7 separate regions of the Homo sapiens genome follow, and regions 1, 2, 3, 4, 6 and 7 are each linked to region 5. The links are contacts of gene promoters, found by promoter capture Hi-C in blood cells and fetal thymus (Javierre and others, 2016). All regions are on one chromosome and are shown on one strand. Each heading gives the region's core, a stretch centred on a gene start or on the middle of the fragment in contact. The rest is flanking DNA. Distances are from core to core; before and after follow the strand shown.

Region 1 (3,332 bases), core at 203-2,702, 780 kb before region 5:
TGACTTTCCCTAGAAGACTCACTCATCTCCTTCCTCCATGAAATGAGACTACCAGAGGAATCCTGTATTTTAAAAAAGTTTAATTTTAATCCTTCCTAGAGGAATACAGATTTGAATGAAATACATTCATTCCATAAATACATTAGCAGCAAAACCTTCCCACCAGAGTCCTCTACTCCAGCCCAGAGGTTGTGCCTTGAGCAGGAGAGCATGTTCCATCAATCCTGTCAACTTAAGGGTGGGTCTGCTTCTGAGAAACGCTGGATGTGCATGGGAGACACAATGACCAGGTGCATGGGTGACTTAACTAAGCTGGGACCCTGAAAACAGGCCCATGTGGTCACTATTCAGCCTTCTTTACCTTCCAAAAATCCTTTGGCATCTTCCATGCTTCTCTGATGAGGTTCCTCAGCACTGAGACAACTGGGAAGACCTAACTTTGCACATGCATTAAATAATGTTATTTTGAGTTGGCAATGTTTTAACACTTTTCATAAGGTAAATGAAACATAAAAGATTATTCCCTTCCTTCCCTTCCTCAGGTGAGTCCACATGTACTCATCAGGAGACAATCCAGCAGGCATTATTTGGGCTCTCTGTATCTCCAGGCCCCCTTTGTCTGAATGGCTGGATGTTTACTGGAGACAGGGAGCCATGTCTAAACCTACAAAGATCTCCACGTTACAATAACCAGGTGACTTGCTCAGGCTTCCATCAAAGCTAATTTCTTGGGCAGAGGCCAGGCATCTCTCCTCTTGTTCTCTCCATCACTGACTACTGACTGACTGCTGCTTTTTTATTTGCCCTCCAGGCACCTGCCGAAACTTTGGAAAACAAGATCTACCCTAAACTTCCAAGTGGCCAGGAGCAGTTAAGGCAGGTCCTGCTTTAAACTTACTAGCTGCCAAGTAGCACACTTATGCTGCTGTGTCCCAATCCATTCTGTGGTGAGTATAAGTCACAAGAGTCTGCATAAAACACTATCAGCAATCAGGATGGCTATGGGGCAAGGACCGTTTAGAATGTTACCAAGTCACAGGACCAGCAGGAAAATGGAATAATGGAAGAATGTGAAATAAATCTGATTTGTTTGAGCAGAAGGCAGCTTTGATTCAGGCATAAATGCATCTCCCAGATTATCATGTAAATAAAGACCTCAGAAGTTGACACTTCCCTCCCAGTCCACCACTTAAAACAGGACACATGCTCAGTTTTCCCAATCTGTTTTAAAGTGTTTTCATTAGGATACTCTTCTGTAAGTGCTTTATTCATTCCCAGTCTGTTTTGATTACTGGCTGAAAATAAATCAGGAACCATTTTATATAAAAACCATTATAGTAGATAACTGGTTATGTGTATTTTTCCATTTGCATTTTCATCCAAAATTGCTTGTTTCTTTTCCTTTTATTTATGTGCAGAAAGAGACTCATCCGCTGAATACACAGCACTGTTAATCCTACAGTCTTCTGTCCCCACAGAGTCTGCTAGATCTTCCTCTTCTGAGTCATCCTCTTCTTCCTCCTCTGGTGCTGACGAACTGGAGGTGGGCCCTTTGCAGGTTTTCAGGTGGCGGGTGAGATGGTATTTGGTTAGATAAGCCTTTGTACATTTTTCACAGACATAATCCCGTTTTCCTTCATGAGAATTGAGATGCTTCTTTAAGTGATTTGTTCTCAAGAACAGCTTATCACACTTGGGACACTTGATCTGGCGTTCTCTAAGAGGAACACAAGAAAAAACATTTGATTTGGGGTTACAAATAACAACTGAGGCAACACTTATTCTTCATAGCCGCAGGCCTTTGTCAGAGCAGCTCTATCCTTCTGAATCAGGCTTTTGCATAGGTGATATACAGAAGACTCATAAAACATGTATAGTTTAAAACAGTGTAGGCTCATTTTTCCTGTTTTAGAATACTATGTAAATTCTCAAATTCTATGTAAATTCTATATGTATTTCTTTTGTCTTGCTGCATTCTCTCAGTATGATGCTCATAAAATTCATTCAAGCTGCTGTATCAGTTGTTTGTTCCCTTCCACTGCTGTATACTATTTACAAATATACAAATACACCACAACTTATCTATGGTACTGGATTTGTCTCTAGCTAATGAATGTTTTGGTGGTTTCCAGTTTTTTATTATCACAAGCAAAAGTGCTAGAACGTTTTTAAATTTTTTTAAATTTTTATTATTATTTTTTAGAGACAGGGTCCCACCATGTTGCCCAGACTGGAGTGCAATGGCTATTCACAGGTGTGATCATCATGCACTACAGCCTTGAACTCCTGGGCTCAAGTGATCTGTCCGCCTCAGCCTCCCAAGTACCTGGGACTACAGGTGCATGCCACTGTACCTGGCATTTGAACATTTTTATACTTGTATGGTGCTCTGCAATACATGTTTCTCTAGGGCACATACCCAAGAACTATATAGCTAAATCAAAGGATATGCACATCTTCAACTTTACAAGATAATGACAAACGGTTTTCCAATGTAGTTGTTTCAATATACACATCCATCATTGACGGTTCTGGTTGTCCCATATTCTCAACTGGAAGACTCAAATTTGAAAATGTCTGCCAATTAGCCAGTACATAATGGTATCTCATTACACCGTTATTTGTATTCCCTGGATGCCACTTTTATGGAATTACCATTTTTCTGTCCTTTTCTTAGACTAGTGGTTCTCAAGTAGGGGCGACTGCCTCTATGGGGACATTTGGCAATGTCTGGAGTCCTTTCTGATTGTTATACTGGGGAGGGGTGGTATAATTAGTATCTAGTAGGAAAAGGCCAAGGATGCTGCTAACCATTCTACAATGCACAGGGCAGCCCCACAACAAAAAATTAACCCGGTCAAAATGTCAATAATGTCAAGGTTTGAGTAACCCTGGCCTAGACATTTCAGAGCTGAAAAGAACCTTAGAGATCACACAGACCAGGAATTTTTTAGCTTTTTTTTTTTTTTTGAGTAGCTGAACCCCATGTCTTTATGAAAGCCCAATATGAAACAGTTAAAGCAGGTTATTAATAAAATCCTGGAAGGAGTGAGAGGGTGCAGTCGGGCGTTCTGAAGCCTGGCTTCCTTAGCATTTCTCTCATCCTCTTCTAGCAACAGATGGCACTGAAGAACCCTTAGAATTCCCTGGAGCAGTTTTAAAACCACCAATCTAATCCAACCTCTTAATTCTGCAGATGGGAAACATCATGTGCATAAAAACTACTAAGGAACTTGCCCAAGGCCACAACAAAACCCCTACCAAAAGTCTGACTTTTCATCTTCTACTCTGATGGTTTTTAGATGTTTATTCAACACATATTTACTGTGTCT
Region 2 (2,982 bases), core at 300-2,799, 760 kb before region 5:
GAAGATACATCTACATGACCTGTCCCCATAGCAACCTCCTGGGTGATGGAGGAGACAGCCACAGGTTCTAGGCTGAGGCCAACTTCATGGAGGGAAACAGATTCTAGGGAGGCAAGGTTGTGTGAGGTAGAGAGTGCCACGCTTACAGAGTTGGTGCTCATGGCCACAGTGTGAATGGAGTCACTGAGGGCACTGTCAGACATGCCATTGACCCGACTTGCAATGTGGTCTGTCTCCATGACCACAGGGAGCTCCAGGCCATTCCCATGCATGGGTATCACACCACCATGTCCTACAGCGTCTGCTGCAAGGTTGTTGCTCACAGAATCCACAGACAGAGGTTCATGACTTCTGGAGCCATTTGGGATTTGGGAATGCTCGCCTGCAACACCGTCCATCGTAAGCTCCTCTGCCATTCCATCTGTCGAAATTGGGCTGGTAACCCTAGAAACGTTCTCCATAGTGATTGCTGTGTCCAAGGCCACCTCATGGCCATCACTGGGATGAAGACTTTGGGCACCATGTGTGTTCACAGAGCGAGAGTCTATTGAAACAATGCCTGGTTCTAATCCAACATTTCCATTGGACTGATAGGGATCTAGTGCTGAAGGGTTATTGGTGATAGATAATGCTGTATTACCATCAACATTTATAGAGTTAGGGTGGATGTACTGTGGAGGTGGTCTGTCAGCTAAATAAGATAAAATGCCTGAGAAAAGGAAAAGATGAGATATCAGAGACTTTTAGTACATTATTAAAGAATTCCAAGCACTAGACGCTATTTCCTTACAAACATAACTAAGTTCAAATAATCTCCTGCTTCTTTAATTTAATCGATACACACTATTTTATAAATAGCAACATACATATACCGTAATTGAGTTTTTCCTGTAAAACTCGAAAATCCTAAAAAAGTTAACTATGTTCCTTTGAAGCTAACTGGGAATCACTAACGAAAACACTGCTTTTAATATACATATGGTTGCAATTCCTGAGTCCTAAGGTGTAAAATTTGCTCTCCTAATTATTAAAAGGTAAAATGATTTAAAAACAGATCTTCCATGTGAAAAATAAAACTTAATTAAATATAATTTAATATAATTAAACTATCATAACACAAACTATTTAATACAAGTCACAATTGTACCTGTTTTATTAAAACAAAAAAAAATTAACACTTGTGCTTGGGAGGATATGGTGAAATGATACTTACTAAACTGCCAGAGGGAATGTAAACTGCTAAAACTTCTTTGTGAAGCATATATATTAGGAGCCTCAAAAATGTTAATACCCTCTTGCACAAGAAATTCCACTTAAGGTACTCTTCTCTAAATCCATTTTGTAAATATTATACATAAAGACGTTCATAAGAGCATTAGTTACAATGGTAATAAAAACTGGAAAAACCAAACTGTCCAACAATAAAGATAATAAACCATCAAATACCCATTCAGTAGAAAGTAATGCATCATTAAAAAGGATAATTATGAAAACCACGTAGCAGCAAAGGAAAATACCCATGTAACAGCAGAGAAAAAGATAAAGTGAAAAAAGTAAAGACAGACAATCGTATAGAAAGTATGGTCTTGGGCAGGGCACAGTGGCTCATGCCTGTAATCCCGGCACTTTGGGATGCTGACGTGGGCGGATGGCTTCAGCGCAGGAGTTCGAGACCAGCCTCGGCAACATGCCAAAACCCCATCTCTTTTTTTAAAAAAGTTATTTATAAAAAAGAAATGAAATATGGTATGGTCTCAAGGCAGGCATGTGCCTGTATTCCAAGCTACTCAAGAGTCTGAGGTGAGAGAATCACTGGAGTCCAGGAGTTCCAGTCCAGCCTGGGCAAAATAGTTGAGACTCCGTCTCCATTAAAAGAAAAAAAAAAAAAAGAAAAGAAAAAAGAGAGCAAGAGAAGAAACCGTGGTCTTAATTATGAAAATTGGTAAAAACCTATACACCAAAACAAATGGCAGGAAGGAAGTACACCAAAAAGATGGATGATGGGACTGAGTGGTTCCTTCCCTTATTTGCTAAATTTTCCGCAATAAGCATATAATACTCCTATAACAGAATAAAAATTCAATGAACTTAAAAAACATGACACTATAACAAGACACTATAGTGCTTGACTGAAATTATAGCTGTAGAATTATAAACACCAAATGAAAGAGATACTGGAGGAGAAAGAAGAAAAATTATGTGCAATTAAGAAATTCAGCTTAGTCAAACTGTATTACTAATGTGTTATGTGCCACATTCTAAGAGGAAAAGTACATAAATATAAACAAAGATACTTTTCCTGCCTAGAGATTAATATCTAATAGTGACAAACAGAAAAAAGTGTTATTCATATCTTCAGGATAAAAGTTTAAAAGCTGGCGCCGTTCTTTTTCTCTAACATCTCAAGTAACTGTAACACTTACCAGGTAGAATGGTTCTGAAATAACTGCTCTCCAGGTGAGGGTAAGGTGGTGGAGGTAGGGTGTAGTTTCTTTCAGGTAACCCACACATCACCCCTCGATCCCCAATACCCATTGGTAGCATTAAAGACAGAGCAGAAGGCAGAGAGCTCAGGGAGGGACCCAGGTTTGGAATTGCCACTGGGAGGCCTACAAAACAAAATTTTTTTTCTCAGTTAAAAGAAAATAGGTAATTAAAAATTCTCACTACAACCACTGGCTAAACTCTTAGAAAGGTTTTTACACATGGGCAAAAATCTCACCTACTAGCCCTTTTCATCCTTAGATAATGTGCAAATATCCACAAATAAGCCTAAAGAAAGTAGTCTTAGTCCCAAAGATAGTTTTTAAGTTAGTTCTAAACCGGCAAGTTGATACTCCAATTGTCTGTATTGCGCTTAAATACAAAAATATTTAATTAATTAATTTATCGATTGATTTGAGACGGAGTCTTGCTTTGTTGCCCAGGCTGGAGTGCAGTGGTGTGATCTCAGCTCACTGCAATCTCGGCCTCCTGGGTTCA
Region 3 (3,335 bases), core at 268-2,767, 850 kb before region 5:
ACACTTTGGGAGGCCAAGGTGGGCAGATCACTTGAGATCAGCAGTTCAAGACCAGCCTGGCCAACATGGCAAAACCCCATCTCTACTAAAAAATACAAAAATTAACGGGGCGTGGTGGCAGGCACCTGCAATCCCAGCTACTCAGGAGGCTGAGGCAGGAGAATCGGTTGAACCTGGGAGGCAGAGGTTGCAGTGAACCAAGATTGTGCCACTGCACTCCAGCCTGGGCAACAGAGCAAGACTCCGTCTCAAAAAGGAAAAAAAACAAAAAACAAAAACCTATAACTAGTGAATAGTGGTGTTGGGAGGATTAAAGGAGATATTTTGTACGAGTCCCACACTGTTAGTAGCAGGGAAAAGGCTTTTCTAAACTTCTAAGACTGAGCAGAAGGAAGGGGAAATTGATGATTCATACAAGGAAAGGAAGGCTAATGACTTTGCCTTCATTTCTAGAACTTTCTACAGCAGCGGTTCCCATGGTGATTTGTGATTCTCTAGGGTTTTGCTACTTATTCCGAGGAGTATAGGGAAATTCCCCCCAAACTGAGCTCTTTTGTGATTCTAGTTCCTAGCACAGTGCTTCACACAAAGTAATCAAGAAATGTTTGCAAATGGAAGCCAAGTACACCTGGATTTCCTTTCTTATAAACATCATATTTTCAAAAGATTAGAGTTGCAGGGATTCACTCTTCCAAATTTCTTGTCTACACAGGAATGTGAGATTCACATGTGTGACTTGGATGACACGAGACTCCCATGGTGTGTGTCTAAGGTCCAAGACCCCACAAATGGCTGAGCAGGGCCCACGCCCGCCAGAGCCAACTCTCAGTCCAGGGCTTGAGGACCACAGCTCTGTGGAGAGGGAGAGGGTAGCCACAAACCCCCAAATGAAACAAACTGCTAGATATCCCTCCAGAAAAATCTGGGACTGCTGTCCTCATCAAGTTAGTAGGCAAACCCATATGCCCTGTGCTGCCACTTGAGTGTGTGGACACTCATCCCCCACCCCTCCACCAAGAAACCTCCCTGGTGGAACTTCACGTCACCTCTGTTCCTCCCAGCCTAGCCAATGCCTTGAATAAAGCAGCACGTGCCTTTGGCCGGGGCCATTGCAGAAGCTGCTATGATGCCTATTTTTTCCACCCTCTTTAAAAATAACCCAACAGATTTTGAACTTCCTGCTTGGCAGAAAAAAATAGAACTCATACTCAGCAATCACATTGCGCTTTAGTTCCCATCACTGATGAGGCAGGCAGATAACGAGTGCCCTGTGAAAGGACACATCTCCAAGTTTAGCCCTGAATCTGAAAAGACAATCTGTCTGCGTGAATAGGCAATTAGAAGACATGCCCTGATGTCATTGGTGCGTTCTTTGGATGTTGCTTTTCAGAGCTAACCTTCAGATGAGTTCTGAATTTTAATGCTACGGAAAACCTCTGGGATGAAGAGCTACAAAGGGAAGAGGCTGATTGGTACAATGGAGGGGCTCTGTGCTGGGCACCACATCTCACCCCTGACCCTGAATCTGTCATCTGCTACCTGGGTGACCTTGGCCAGGCCTCTTCTCCATCTGGACCTGTTTCCTCAACTCCTTCTGACTTGATGTCCTGTGGGCCTAGACTGGAACCTGTCACACTCTCCTTACCACACTCCTATATTAGAACCTTGTGAGAACATCATTTTGTGTAATAGAACATTCCAGATTGCATCCAGGAGGATTTAGCAAAAGGGACCTTTTTCATCATTTCACAATGATGCCTTCAGCAAAACAGGCTCCCAGCAGGAAACCAGATAAAAGCGTTAGAATGAGGCTTCACCTATCTCACCATGAAGATGGCATCTCTCTAGATCATTGCTACATGACTACCATCTCCTTTTTGGTTTGGGGTTTTTTTTTTTCACTTTTTATTTTGAAACAATTACAGATTCGCAGGAAGTTGCAAAGATAGTACAGAGTAACCCAATGGTAACATCTTAGATAAATTTAGTACAATATCCAAACCAGGAAGTTGACATCGCTACAATGTGTGTGTATGGTTCTGTGACATCTTGCCACGTGTGGATTCGTGTAACCACCACCACTGTCACTCTTCCCTCACCGCAAAGATCTCCCTCATGCTACCCCTTTGGAATCACTCTGGCCCTTCCTCCACCAACTTCATCCCAAACCCCTGGCAACCATTAATCTGTTTTCCATCTCTATAGTTTTGTTATTTCAAGAATGTTATGTAAATGAGACCATATAGTAAGCAGCCTTTGGAGATTGGTGTTTTTATTATTATTATTATTATTGACACACGGTTTCATTCTGTCGCGCAGGCTGGAGTGCAGTGGTGTGATTTCAACTCACTGCAACCTCCGCCTCCCAGGCTCAAGAATCCTCCCGACTCAGTCTCCCAAGTAGCTGGAACCACAGACATGAGCCACCATGCCCAGCTAATTTTTATTTATTTATTTATTTATTTTTGTAGAGATAGGGATTTTACCATGTTGCCCAGGCTGGTGTCAAACTCCTGGGCTCAAGCAATCCTCCCACCTCAGTATCCTGAGTAGCGGGACAACAGGCATGCACCACCACTACCAGATCACTTTTTAAAAAAATTTTCTGTAGAGACAGGGTCTCGCTATGTTGCCAGGACTGGTCTCAAACTCCCGAGCTCAAGCAATCTGTCTGCCTCAGCCTCCCAAAATGCTGGGATTACGGGTGTTAGCACCTCAAACGGCGAGACTGGCTTTTTGCACCCAGCAGAATGCCTCAGAGACCCATCCAAGGAGCCTGCACGTATGGAATGCTTGTTCCTTTTCATTGATGAGTAGCATTCCCCGGTATCCTGTCACCTTTTAACCAGAGAGAGACAGGGGCTTTCTCTGTCACCCAGGCTGGATTACAGTGGCGTGGTCACGGCTCACTGCAGCCTCAACCTCCCCAGGCTCAAGCTATCCTCCAACCTCAGCCTCCAGAGTAGCCACAGGTGGAAGCCTCCACGCCTGGCTAATTTTTTTATTTTTTGTAGAGATTAGGTCATACTATGTTGTCCAGGCTGCTCCCAAACTAGGTCTTTCTGTAATTGATGACTTCTAGACATCTCACTGATGGTGTAGGGCAGTGCTTCTCGAATTTGTTAAAATGACTCCATGGGGCTGGGGTGGGGCTTGAAATTCATTGTTTCTAACAAGCATCCCAGCGCTGCTGCTGCTGCTGCTGGTCCAGGGACCTCACTTTGAGTAGCAAAGGTGTGCAGTCTGGAAGTCAGAGATTCATCTCAAACCCTTTCTGCTGCCAGGCCAACCTGTGACACTTGTTCTGTCACCTGGCCTTTCTGGAGTCTCAACCT
Region 4 (3,343 bases), core at 596-3,095, 620 kb before region 5:
ATATTTAAAGTGAATTATCATAACTCAGCTGCCTGTGTAATGTGCTAAAGTCAGCATGCCAGCCTATACCTACCAGATTCCTGAACGCAGACTCATTCGAATGTGCTAAGTCTTCCTGCATCTCTCTCTGTTCCTAGTGTCTATTACAATGTGTCATAGAATTAATGGTGGCTGCATTGGGTTTGAATGCAATACGTGTACTGCCCACTTGCTGAGAGGCTGATTTTTTTCTTTCACAGTAGATATGACCTTGGATGTTGACACAGCTGATGAGCTCCTTGTCATTTCTGATGACCTGCAGAGTGTCCAATGTGGGCATATGGAACAGAAGCTGAAAGAACATGCTGAGATTTACCTTCAGAGTTTGGGCTCCCCTCAGTTCACTTCCAGTTGCTATTATTAGGAGGAAGATTTGGGAACAAGCACAGAATCAGACCTAGGAGCTTGCAAAGAATCTGTTCACCAGCGAGGAGAGATCAAACTGTCTACAGAACTTGAATTCTGGACACTGAGTTTGAGAAAGGGAAGGTGCTTCTCAGCCAGCACTGTGCTTCTGAATGCACTGTGGGTGAATCCCTGGTTACATAAAGCAGGGATTTTGCTGGATACTGGCATTACAAACATTACTTGTTGTTACCTTAGTGATGGATCCCATATCTTTTGTTTTTTGTTTTTTGTTTTTTTTTGAGACGGAGTCTCACTCTGTTGCCAGGCTGGAGTGCAGTGGTATGATCTTGGCTCACTGCAACCTCCGCCTCCTGGGTTCAAGCGATTCTCCTGCCTCAGCCTCCTGAGTAGCTGGGACTACAGGTGTGCACCACCACACCTGGCTACTTTTTGTATTTTTAGTAGAGATGGGGTTTCACCATGTTGGCCAGGAGGGTCTTGATGTCTTGACCTCGTGATCCGCCCTCCTCAGCCTCCCAAAGTACTGGGATTACAGGTGTGAGCCACCATGTCCAGCCTAATTTTTCTTATAAATTCTTTTTTGGCCCATTAGTCACTTTAGAATGTGTTAATTTCCACATATTTGTGAATTTTCCATTTTTCCTTCTGCTGTTGATTTCTAGTTTTATTCCATTGGATGTACAATACAGGGCCCATTTTTGCCTAATTTATATAACACCCTGTTTATATCTAGTCTCACATATTTTCTCTGTATCCACAGAAAAGTCAAGAATTTGTTATTCTTGCCTCTGGTTTGGCCTTCCCTAGAGCATTCAAAGCTTCTTTTTCTCTGTCTGGAAAGGAAAAGCTGGACAGGCCCATGGCTTAATTCTCATTCATCCATAAAGTTATTTAGACCAAGAGTTTTCCCAGTGAGCTCTGTTTTGGCCCCGCGAGTGAACCATATGTTGACAGTTGCACATGGAACAGAGGCAACAGGAAAAAAAGCCCCGTTGTGGGCTCAGTAATTATTGGCTATAAACAAATAACATGGTTTTACAGAAGAAATAAGACCTAGTATTAGATAGATCAATAGAGTGACTATAGTTTGCGATAGTCTATTATACATTTAAAAATAGCTGGAAGAGAGAATTCAAATGGTTCTAGTATAAAGAAAAGACAAATATTTAAGGTGATGGATATCCCAAGTATACTGATCGATGTTTACAAATTATATGAATGTGTGAAATTATCACATGTACTCTGAAACTATGTACATTATGCATCAATAAAAACAAAATAAAATGAAACTCTGTATGTCATTCATTAATTGAGTTCACCTTTACTAGGAGATTCTGCATATTAAAAGAACACAGAGAATATTGATTCAAGTCAGGTCCACAGGACACTGAGGGCTGTCTGCTGCTCTCCACTGAGGCTGTTGTTTTCAGCAGAGAGTGTCTATAAATGTCCTATAGGAGCAAATTAGCCCAGGCATTCACTTGACTAGTGAAACAGATGCGGTGGAAAGGGGAGGTCTCTAGGCCTCCAGGATGTAAAGGCAGAGTCCCATGCACCTGGACCCTGAGAAAAGCAGAAGGTCTGATGACACAGGGGTGGCAGAGGTGACTTTGCCTCCCCACCCCAACCCTCAGTAGGTTCCAGTCAGGAGATCTGCACATTATAAATGGACAGTGACCTGGAGCTCTTTTCTTTTTCCCCTAAAACTAATTATTCTATGTAACAACAAAACCAAACTTTGCTTATGTCTTTTAATTAACAAAAAAATTACTATACTGTAATGATAAAACCATAAATTTTATAGTTTTAGTATATGCCAGTGGAAAAAGATTATAGAAGACACAGGGCTATAGACTGAATGTTTGTGTCCCCCCAAAATTTATACGTTGAAAGCCTCCCTCCCGTGTGATGGTTTTAGGAGGAGGGGCCTTTGGTAGGTGATTGGATCATAAGGGTCATCTTATGAATGGGATTAGTGCCCTTATAAAAAAGACCCCAGAGAGCTCTCTCACCCCTTCCCCTATGTGAGGACACAAAGAGAAGGCACCATACCTAACAAGCTTCTCGGTTCATAGATGTCCTCACTGGACACTAAATCTGTCAGTGCCTTGATCTTGGACTTCCCAGCCTCCGGAACTATGAGAAATACGTTTTTGTTGTTTATAAGCCACTAACTATATGGTCTCTTGTTAAAGCAGCGTGAATGAGCTAAGACAATCAGTTTGTTCTTTGTGTTGCCTCCAGACTCTCAGAATCTGTGTGCTTCCCCAAAGCATCTGGACTTTCCATGTGCTTTTTACACATCTCCAAGCATGGCTAAAATTTAAAAGTCAGAAAATACCAATTGATGGAGAGGCTGGGGAACAACCAATCTCTTGTCCATGGCTGGCGTGAGCATCAGATGGGCATTTCATTTGGAAAACTCTTGGTCAGAATCCACTAAAGGTGGACAAAAGCATCCCTGTGCCCTTGCGAATCCTTTGATGAAGGGACAGCCAAAAGAAATGCATGCATAGATTAATGACAAATGACCAACAGGAGGCAGCATCTGCTATGGCTACGCACACAGGCTCTGGGGTCAGACAACTTCATGTTGATTCAGGCTCTGACACTTGCTGTATGGATGACTTTGCACCAATCACAGCCCTAATTTCCTCATCTACTAAATAGGGAGAATAATTGTATCTCTTTCAGAGGGTCAATGAAAGGATGACACAATAGTGTTGCTGTAACAGCACAGTACTTGGGCCATAAAAAAGCATTCCGTTCTGAGTAGATATTGTAATTATTTCCATAACCTATCTTATGATTATTATTAGCCTCTACAAAAGTACACTAAAAGGAACAAAAAGGAGGAAATAACTAGCCAATCTTGGGAAATAAGGCAATACTTGAGGGAGGAGGTGATATTCGAATGTGATTTTCTTTTTTTTTT
Region 5 (3,277 bases), core at 680-3,179:
CCAAGATCATGCCACTGCACTCCAGCCTGGGCAACAGAGTGAGATCCTATTTCAAAAAAGATAGATAGGTGATAGATAGATAGATAGATAGATAGATAGATAGATAGATAGATAGTTTGCTCTGTGCCAGATGTATAGAATCTCATTTCACCCTCACATAAAACCTTGTGAAGTGGTAATATCATCACACTGTGCACAGTTTACAGAAAAGCCTAGACAGATGATCAACAAGATCAAGTCACTTGCTGAATGTGATTCAGTTTGCAAGGGGCAGAACTGGGATTTGAACCCAGGTCTGTGTGACTCCCAACAGTGACACCCCACAACCACCACCTAGCCCTGCCTCCAAGAGCAATACACGTCACAGAGGAGGTCAGATCTTGAAGCATCAAGCCTTCTGCAAATCCTGAACTGGATGCCAAAAGCAAGGTAGGCTGTTTGTCCCCATTTTACAAGTGGGGAAAGTGAGGCTAGGAGTAACGTGCCCAAGGTGACACGGAGAGTAAATGGCAAAGTCTGAATTTGAGCTCAGGTCTCTTTGACTCCCCAGAATCTGAACTGCTAACTTCTAAATGCTTAGCGTTTCTGGGGCACCTCCCTAGATGTTTAATTTCAGTATTTGTGGATTAAGATGGAGGTTTCCATTCTCTGCTTCAAGGAAAAAATTTCTCTCTGGGAAGCCAAAAGAACTAGCCAGGTCCTTCTGGAGAGGATACAAATTAAAAAGTCAGGGAGAACCGAGGGGGTGGCTTGCGCCTGTAATCTTAGCGCTTTGGGAAGCCGAGATGGAGGGAGAGCTTAAGGTCAAGAGTTCGAGACCAGCCCGGGCGACATAGTGAGACCCGGTCTCTAAAGAAAATAAAAAATCAGAAATAGGTCGGGCGCGATGGCTCACGCCTGTAATCCCAGCACTTTGGGAGGCCGAGGCAGGCGAATCTTCTGAGGTCAGGAGTTCGAGACCAGCCTGGCCAACGTGGTGAAACCCCATCTCTACTAAAAATACACAAATTAGGCGGGCGTGGTGATGCGCGCCTGTAATCCCAGCTACTCGGGAGGCTGAGGCAGGAGAATCGCTTCAACCTGGGAGGCGGAGGTTGCAGTGGGCCAAGATCGTGCCACTTCCCTCCAGCCTGGGCAACAGAGTGCGATTCCGTCTCAAAAAAAAAGAAAGAAAGCAAGACAGAGAGAGAGAAAAAAAAAGAAAGAAAGAAAGAAAAGAAAAGAAAAGAAAATTCGCCGGGCATGGTGGCATGCACCTGTAGTCCCAGCTACTCGGGAGGCTGAGATGGGAGGATTGCTTGAGCCCAGGAGGTGGAGGCTGCAGTGAGCTGCAATTGCTCCACCGCACTCCAGCCTGGGCGACACAACGAGACCCTGTATTTTATAAGAAAAAAAAAAGTTGTTTAAGTCAGGGAGGAAAAGACACAGAGAGGAAAAGAGTAAAGAAGAAGAAGGCGGCAAACTCAGCAGCATGGGGTGGAGGCTAAGAACAGGGGCTGCGCAGTCAAGCAGGCTAACCGGGTGAAGGGGTGAAAAGCATCAGCATCTTCATTTCACAACCGGGAAAAATGAGGCACACGACAGCGGCTCCGGGACGAAGAGACCCGAGGAAAAGACCGCCGTGGAACTTCCAGTTTCCGGGCCCGCCACCTAGTGTGCCCCAAATCCGCACGCCCATCGGGTTTCCAGCACCTGCTCCTCCTGCCTGTGGCCTAGGCCCCGCCCCTCCCGCTGCTTATTGGCTGCTACGTGAACGAGACAAACGCAAGCAACAACCAATGGGAGTGGCCCACGGCGCGTCTTTCCCGGGGAAGCCGACGCGGACGCGGGAACCCGGAAATGCGAGGGAAGGACAAGTGGGGAAAGCCAATCCGCCGCGACGAGGGCTGCGGGCGGTTCAATGGCAAGTCGCCGGGGGCGGGGCCAGAGGCCGGCGGAGAAGGAGGACCCGGGAGCCGGCGGCCCGGAGCTGGGAGCGCGGGGAAGGCGGTTGGGGTTCTGACAGCTGCGCGCGGTGAGAAGGGGAAAAGCCCTAGGGGCTCGAGAGGATGAAGCCGGGAAGGGTGCGACGGGGCCGCGAGCCCTGGGCGGGGTTCGGGAAGGGAGGCTCTGCAGTCTTGGAGGGGACTCAGACCGGTCCCCTCCCCTCTCCGGGCCTCAGTTCTCCCTTTCTAGGGAAGTGTGGGGGAGAGATTCGCGCCTCCCAGAACGCACTCCTTCCCTGCACACACCCCTGGCACCGGCGAACTGCCCCCTTTCCTGTACCGCCCCGCCCAGGAGCCTGTCCCCTCGGGAAGCCCGCCCAGACCCCTGGACCCGCGCAGCACTCCAGGCGCACCCCTATTAAAGCGCACCCCAAGCCATTTCACATGTTCTGTGGCAATGGGCCAGGATCCCCATGAGACTCAGAACCCCGTGATCCATCAGTCATTCCCGGGTCAGGACCAGCCCAGAGCAGGTGCACAGGCCCTGCTTAGTAATAAGGTAGAAATCGAGACCTGGGGACCGGGTTCAGAGGCCCTGGGGTTTCCTTCCGGATGCCTCTGTTTACCTCCTGTGGGCCTTCTGGAATTTAACTTATGCTCTCTGTGTCTTGGTTTCCCTTGTCTGTAAAATGGAGCTAGCGGTAGCTCTTCCTTCATAGGGTGGCATGAGGGTGAAACGAGGCAATGCGTGGCCAGTACACTGCTCAGCACCTAGGACACCATAGTTGCTTAATAAGTGCTTATTGTTAGCATAGTGTTTGCATGCCTGGCCCCACCTCCACTCCCACTGCCAGCCCCAAGCACATACAAGCCATGTTGTCACTGAGGCCAAGCACTGTGGCCCACAGCCTGAGTTCCTTTCGAGATGCTCGAACTGCTCATCTTCTTGATGGGGTCCCTTCTGGACAGGCCAGAAATGGAAGGCCAGAGAGGGGAAGGGCACTGTGGGAGCTGTGGCTGAATATCAGGGTGAGGGCAATAAATGAGGCCACCCAACAATTGTGCTTATCAAAGATTGGGCGTCAGAACTGCTGTGGCTGATCTGCCTGGGTGTCTGTCAGTCATTTATGTCCCAAATGTTTGACATATGTCCACAAATCCAGTGTTTGTGGTCAGAAGCCACAGGGATATATGGGAAGGGGGGACACTTTAGAGCCGTGGGGTTCCTGAGTTCAAGTCCTAAGGCTGTCACTTGCTCCCGGCGAGACTTTCGGCAAGGGACTTCACCTCTCTGAACCTCAGTTCCCTCACCTGGAGAAGGGTGAAAACATCAGCTCAAGTCGTTGAAGATT
Region 6 (3,279 bases), core at 235-2,734, 600 kb after region 5:
TTGCAAGTAATGAATTTCATTAGAAAGATATTAAGTGCTTGTCATGAGCAAGCCCCTGTGCCAGAAACTCAATATAAATCATTTCATTTTCTCACCCATATGGTGAAGTAGTTGATGAGGACACTGAAGCTCAGCCATTTGCTCAAAGTCATGGCTAATGGAGGGAGGATTCAAACCCACATCAGCTTGATTTCAAAGCCTAATAGTCCTGCCACTGTCAACACCCTGCCTAGATCATGATTATTTGGAATCACTGGGAAAGAATTTTTTTTTCATGAAGTTAGAAGCCTAAGAATTTTTTTCAATGGAATTTTATAAAAATGTCCTTGAATCACAGATGGCTCTCCCTGGAAACATAGGTTTGTTTGAGAGTCACCTCTTTTATTGTCTTAATAAATAGACTAAGAGCCATCACAAGGGCTACTGTGGCTAGAGAACATATGACTCGGGCCGGGCATTGTGCAGGCATTTGACCTGCATTCCTTCACCCCGGTTCCTGTAACATGTACCTGGTGCTGTGGGGTTACAGCTGATAATGCTGAGGTTTCCAGAGCACATGCTTCCAAGTCCAGTGGAGAAAATCCCAAGAAGTCCAATATTCAATGACTGTTCCTTATTGCAAAATAAGCCCAGAAACAAAGTAGCTGTGAACAGGCTGCACCAGCCCCAGCAGCAATTTCCATTTAAACCATTTTGCACAGATCCCGTGCTCAGCGCTCTCGCCAGTTTCTCCACTTGCTGTTTAGTAAGGCCATCATTGTTGGCAGGAAGTGGGTTCCACCTTCCCTGTTGCCTGAGCACAATGTGCTCCTATGTGGTCTCCACTTTCCTGCTGCCTAGTTGGCTGGGCTTCTCCAGCTGGGCCTTGGAGGCGACCTTTGTCCCACATGCCAGCCCTCCCCACGTTGCAGAACACTATGTAACTGCAGCGTGTGCTGAATTTCCTCTTCTGTGCTCAACCCTAGCAAGAGCCAGTCAACCCTGAATGAGAATGTGGCAATGGAGCTGTTTTTTTCTTTTATCCCCAAGTCACAAGAAATTGGAAACATTCCATTAAGTGGCGTGATTTGAGAGGGTTTCGCCAAATCTTTTCAGGGGAGAGAAGCCAGGTGACCTGATAGCGATCACCTTCCCATTCACGGTTTTCAATGGGGGCTTGTTTCTCAAATGACCAACACCTGTAGGCAGTTAATTTTCAGCATGTCACAGGAGGGCCCAGATGACTTTCTGCCTACTGCTTACGACAACATGGACTTTAGATGCCTCATGGCTTCAACAGCTAAGAATTATGAAATAAAGCGAGTTATGGGATTAAAAGGCAGATAGCAGAACTCTCCCAGGAGTAGCCAGGGCTGCACAAGTGGTTTGACGTGGGATCTTTCTCATCTTTGCCCCGGGTTGTTGCTGCTTTGAAGGTTAAGTGCTCCAGGGATATTTTTAAACAGCAGGGGCTGATTAATCTAAAAGTGACATTTGCAGTCCCCAGAGTAAGCAGCTAGCAGGCTTAGATTCAGGCCCTCAGCAAACAAGGAACCTGGAAAATGTAACCCTGAATGCACGGTGGGGAGGACATGGCAAGAGAAAAGCGGCAGGAATAAAGTGGTAAGTCAGCTCGCCCCTCCCCGGGGTCCGGACCATTCTGCCAACGTCCAGGTAAATTCGAACCCAATGTATAGTGAGAGCAGACCCTGTCTGAAGGCATGCACTTGGGGTCCCCGGGGAAAAACGACTCCCGTCATGTTTGAAGGAAGCTAATCAGAAGAGCTCGAAATGTAACGCAGATGAAAGAGAAGGGCCTTTCTTTGCTTCTATAAATGGTGGTGTGGATCCCTGGACATGCTCCCATATAAGTTCCACAACGTTTTATAAACAATTCTGTTTTTTGCCTCCAAAGCTACTGTCTTAAGGAATAGTATTCTGTTTCTGTTTCCTCAAATGGTTGTTCTTTTTTTTTTTTTTTTTTTTTTTAAAGCAGACTAAGGCTGGGCACGGTGGCTCATGCCACCCAGCACCTTGGGAGGCAGAGGCAGGTGGATCACTTGAGGTCAGGAGTTCGAGACCAGCCTGGCCAACATGGCGAAACCCCATCTGTACTAAACACATAAAAATTAGCCAGATGTGGTGATGGGCACCTGTAATCCCAGCTACTTGGGAGGCTGAGGCAGGAGAATCGCTTGAACCCAGGAGGTGGGGGTTGCAGTGAGCTAAAATTGCGCCACTGCATTCCAGCCTGACTGACAGAGCAAGACTCTGTCTCAAAAAAAAAAAAAAAGAAAAGAAAAAGAAAAAAAGGAGACTAAGAGTAAAGCGTTTGTAGTGGTCCTATATCCTATATTTCTAGGAAGACATGACTTTCTTTCAATGTTGAAAAAATGCATTCCAAAATAATATGCAAGTTAAAAAGTCACTCAGCACCGTGCAAAAGTCTCCTTGCTGTTATTCCTGTCTAACCCTCCTCCTCCAGGTAGCCACTGTGCACATTTTGGTATAAACCCCCCAGACCTTTTATTCTGTACACTCACACTGTACACAACTCTCTCCCTCATGTCTATTGTGATTACTTTTATTTTTTAATATCAATGGGCATCCATATAGGTTGGGTGACCAACCATCCCACTTTGCCCAGGACCGGGGAATTCCCGGGACATGGGACTTGCAATTTAAAAACTGAAAGGTGAAGATATTATTATTATCATTATTATTTGAGATGGAGTGCTCACTGCAAGCTCCGCCTCCTGGGTTCACGCCATTCTCCTGCCTCAGCCTCCCAAGTAGCTGGGACTACAGGCACCCACTACCACGCCCGGCTAATTTTTTTTGTATTTTTAGTAGAGACAGGGTTTCACTGTGTTAGCCAGGATGGTCTCGATCTCCTGACCTCAAGTGATCCGCCCGCCTCGGCCTCCCAGAGTGCTGGGATTACAGGCATGAGCCACCGCGCCTGGCCAAAGATATCATTTTATAAATTGCATGTTTCTGCTAATAGTGACATGGAGTTCTTTACAAGATTTCTTTTTATGACTTCTCCAAGTTTTAAGTGGAAAGACCCAGCCAATCCTAATTCATGTGATTTAGAGATGAAAATATCTCTAATCTGTAACTTTCTTTCAGAAGCTCTTAAGAGTTTTATTTGCTCCTGCTCAGGTGTTGTGTAAACTCGCTCATACTTTCAACACCTTTAGGTCTGAGACAGAAATTTGAGTATTACATTACATGAGATACCCAGTCTTCATGGGGAAATAAACATTTTAATCTTTTGAAATGGAGGTTTCCTTGAAG
Region 7 (3,164 bases), core at 248-2,747, 970 kb after region 5:
CAGTTGGTATTTATGATGCTTCAGCTTTGGAAATATAGAGGTAAGACAAGAGTCTGAATCCTGCCTCTTAGTTATTACAGCCTTGACTCTGCCACATACTAATGGTCTAGACTGGAGTAGATGAGATCATGAATGATCTTCTCATAGGACTCCTCTCCTTATTAGATGAGATCACTTATAAAGGACTTGACACATAATGGGCACTCATTTACTTTTTTAAATGATCTTGGTTATCACCAACCTCTTATTTTCTAATCTTTCTACCTATATGATTCTTGTTTCCCTAACTAGATTGCAAGCTTCTTAAGGACAATACAATAAAGCTCACTTACATGCTACATGCTTTTAGATATCCTATATTAATATTTTCCCATTTAATCCTAATCACAATGTTGTGATGACTAAATTGAGGTACAAGAAGGATAAATGTTGCATTTAATCCTTTCAGCAACCCTAGGACATAGACACTATTATTACCCTCGATTTACACATAAGGAAACTGAGGCCTAGAGAGGATAAGTAACTTGGCCAAATGTCGGATAGAAGGAGTACTAAAAAGAACCAAGGCCCGCTTTCTCTGATGCAAGACTTTTTCTGCTGCGCACAGCCTTTTCTTTGGTTCTCCATGGCATTTAGCAAAATAAGTACTTAATAAACACTTGATTGTGTGTTTTATTAATTGACGAACTATAGTATACACTGTGCAGGTGGAGAAGGTATATAGGAAAGGATGAGAAAAACTGTAAAGTGTAGGCTATTATATGATATGAACAGAAATCAACCAATAACATTGCTGAAGGGATAATAATCTCAAGGAAGGGGATAAGAGTAATTTCTTATTCTGGGAGGGCCCCTGGGAGAAGTGAAAGTTTTAAGATCGTCTTACAGTGCTTAGGTACAGTTTGCATGCAACTTTGTTTTTCTTTTGGGAAGAGGCTCCCTCTTCCCCTTCTAATTCCATGGACCCTCTGCCATTGAGGCACTGTCTGCATGTCATGGAGGGAGCATATCATTGTGCTTGTGGCTTGGGCCCTGCTCTTTTGCAGTCCTGAGGAGCTTGAATCTGTTACTCACTCTAAACAACAGGGCCAGGAGTTCATAGCCCAAGGGACAGGACTGGTGAATCTTAGTGCATTTAAGATAGGAAAAAAGTTAATGGGTGAGAAATGTCAGACTGCCAGCATTATTTCCTACCCAGAGAACCTTAGTAACTGTCCAGGTGGGAGCCTCTGCTGAAGAGTTTTTTTTTTTTTTTAATCCTTGTGTCTATAAAAATAATACACCAGTTAGACTTCCTGACTATACACTCTACAATGTGCACTCAAGTACCTCCATAGGTACCTGATAAGCATCATCACATTTAGTCCTCATTATCAACCTCTAAGCCAATTAATAGATGAAGATGGAAAGACTCAGGGCCCAGTGTGGTGGCTCATACCTGTAATCCTAACATTTTGGGAGGCCAAGGCAGGAGGATCTCTTGAGCCCAGGAGTTTGAGACCACCAACCTGGGCAATATAGCGAGACCCCACCTCTACAAAAAATTTAAAAACTAGCCAGATGTGGTGGTATGTACCTGTGGTCCCAGCTACTTGAGAAGCTGAGGTGGGAGAATCGCTTGAGCCTGGGAGGTAGAAGCTGCAATGAACCATGATTGCACCACTGCACTCCAGCTTGGATGACAGAGCGAGACCCTGCCTTAAAAAAAAAAAAAAGACTTAGACATTCTCCCTATAGTATGTGGCAGAGCTAGGGACTGGCTCCAACTCTGTGTGACTCCCAAAGCCCGTGTGCCCCTCACTGTGCAGTGCTGCTTCACCATGTGCATGCTGTGGAAAATTTAGAAAATACAGACCAATTAAGAAAAATTTCCCGCAATTTCAGTACCTCAAAACAGCCACTGGTAACATGTTGGTATAGTTCATGCTAGTTTTGTATCTGTGTGTGTGTACATTTTTCTTTAGGTAATTGGGGTCTTATTGGTCCACAGGCAGCCCTTTATTCACTTCTAAGGCATAAACGTTTTTCCATTATCATTAAAAATGTCAAACACGCTGAGGCAGGAGAATGGCATGAACCCGGGAGGCGGAGCTTGCAGTGAGCCAATATCGCGCCACTGCACTCCAGCCTGGGCGACAGAGCAAGACTCCGTCTCAAAAAAAAAAAAAAAAATGTCAAACATGGCCGGGCACAGTGGCTCACACCTGTAACCCCAACTGAGATAGGGTATGGTGGCACACACCTGTAATCCCAGCTACTTGGGAGGCTGAAGCAGGAGAATCGCTTGAACCTGGGAGCAGAAGTTATAGTGAGCTGAAATTATGCCGCTGCACTCCAACCTCAGCGACAGAGTGAGACTATCTCAAAAAAAAAAAAAAGGAAAATGTCAAATATAATTTTCAGTAGCTCTTTAACATTCCATGACCTCTAAGTTATTTTGCTTCCCATCACAGCTGTAATTCAACAACAACTTTGGGATTTATTTTCAACATATTCCCTTTAAACTGTGAGGATTGAAGAGATACAGTATAACATTTAGATGAGACATTAAATAAAGAGGACCCAGTGGTGTTTTTAAAAAACCATTGGCATTGTAGTTACTACTTTTACTCAGTGAGGAAGATGTATGATACCACACCTATAAAATTTAACCCTAAGTCTGGATTTTTTTCTTCTGCTTCTGCCAGAAAAAATAACAAGCTTTTCTGAAGTGAGAAGCTGTTCTCAGCCACGAGTCCTGTGCAAGATCACTAATGATTACCTGGCATTTCTGCGACACAGGCAGGTCCTCAGGTGAGATCTCCAGACTTTACTGCTGGGGCAGGAAGCGTAAATGATTCAGAAGATGGCTACCGTTTCTCTCCAAGCCTTTTATAAGTTGGTGCAAAAGTAATTACGACTTAGTGTTTTTTTAAAAAAGTTGAAACCCACAATTACTTTTGTACCAACCTAATACCTTCCCTCCTGTGGTCAAGTGGGCTCTGTTAGTTTGTTTCAAGGATTACTGATGATGTTTGACAGATCACTGTTGAGAAGGGGTCACAGAGGTCCCTTGATATGTTCATGTGGTGGGAGGCTTGCACCAACTTTTTTTTGGTTATAAAAGGGTATTATTTTATTGTCCTTATTAATACTAATAATAGAGCACACTTATTAAATGCCTT

Evidence for each region. Contacts are between HindIII fragments. The CHiCAGO score rates a contact against its expected background, and 5 or more counts as called.
Region 1: a contact is called between a fragment that was not itself captured here and the fragment with the promoter of FICD in region 5, in 1 of 17 cell types (naive B cells). The highest score is 5.4, in naive B cells.
Region 2: a contact is called between a fragment that was not itself captured here and the fragment with the promoter of FICD in region 5, in 8 of 17 cell types (total CD4 T cells, naive CD4 T cells, naive CD8 T cells and 5 more). The highest score is 10.8, in total CD4 T cells.
Region 3: a fragment that was not itself captured here is called in contact with the fragment with the promoter of FICD in region 5 in 1 of 17 cell types (total B cells); the score reaches 6.1 in total B cells.
Region 4: a contact is called between a fragment that was not itself captured here and the fragment with the promoter of FICD in region 5, in 4 of 17 cell types (naive B cells, M1 macrophages, M2 macrophages and 1 more). The highest score is 7.3, in naive B cells.
Region 6: a contact is called between the fragment with the promoter of ACACB here and the fragment with the promoter of FICD in region 5, in 13 of 17 cell types (neutrophils, erythroblasts, total CD4 T cells and 10 more). The highest score is 14.5, in neutrophils.
Region 7: a contact is called between a fragment that was not itself captured here and the fragment with the promoter of FICD in region 5, in 1 of 17 cell types (neutrophils). The highest score is 5.1, in neutrophils.

Annotation. Positions count from the first base shown.
Region 1 is chr12:107,732,806-107,736,137 of GRCh38, forward strand. PRDM4 (PR/SET domain 4) reads right to left here. Exons shown (of 12, transcript NM_012406.4): 12 at 66-1,717. The coding sequence ends at 1,405. Among named protein-coding and RNA genes, the nearest start is that of PRDM4-AS1, 2.1 kb to the right of the region's middle. The HindIII fragment of the contact is 3,900 bases long and covers 1-3,332 here.
Region 2 is chr12:107,751,501-107,754,482 of GRCh38, forward strand. It overlaps PRDM4 (PR/SET domain 4), which reads right to left. Exons shown (of 12, transcript NM_012406.4): 4 at 2,424-2,609; 5 at 1-709. All of the region lies in intron 3 of PRDM4-AS1 (PRDM4 antisense RNA 1), which reads left to right. Among named protein-coding and RNA genes, the nearest start is that of PRDM4, 8.1 kb to the right of the region's middle. The HindIII fragment of the contact is 3,807 bases long and covers 1-2,982 here.
Region 3 is chr12:107,661,558-107,664,892 of GRCh38, forward strand. No RefSeq gene overlaps it. Among named protein-coding and RNA genes, the nearest start is that of PWP1, 23 kb to the right of the region's middle. The HindIII fragment of the contact is 9,605 bases long and covers 1-3,335 here.
Region 4 is chr12:107,889,217-107,892,559 of GRCh38, forward strand. It overlaps the pseudogene LOC644746. Among named protein-coding and RNA genes, the nearest start is that of ASCL4, 120 kb to the left of the region's middle. The HindIII fragment of the contact is 1,242 bases long and covers 1,225-2,466 here.
Region 5 is chr12:108,513,348-108,516,624 of GRCh38, forward strand. It overlaps FICD (FIC domain protein adenylyltransferase), which reads left to right and starts at 1,930. Exons shown (of 3, transcript NM_007076.3): 1 at 1,930-2,014. RefSeq lists an enhancer at 1,402-1,461. The HindIII fragment of the contact is 9,938 bases long and covers 1-3,277 here.
Region 6 is chr12:109,115,103-109,118,381 of GRCh38, forward strand. ACACB (acetyl-CoA carboxylase beta) reads left to right here and starts at 1,485. Exons shown (of 53, transcript NM_001093.4): 1 at 1,485-1,602. The HindIII fragment of the contact is 11,769 bases long and covers 1-3,279 here.
Region 7 is chr12:109,478,950-109,482,113 of GRCh38, forward strand. It overlaps UBE3B (ubiquitin protein ligase E3B), which reads left to right. Exons shown (of 28, transcript NM_130466.4): 2 at 2,688-2,793. Among named protein-coding and RNA genes, the nearest start is that of UBE3B, 2.9 kb to the left of the region's middle. The HindIII fragment of the contact is 2,401 bases long and covers 298-2,698 here.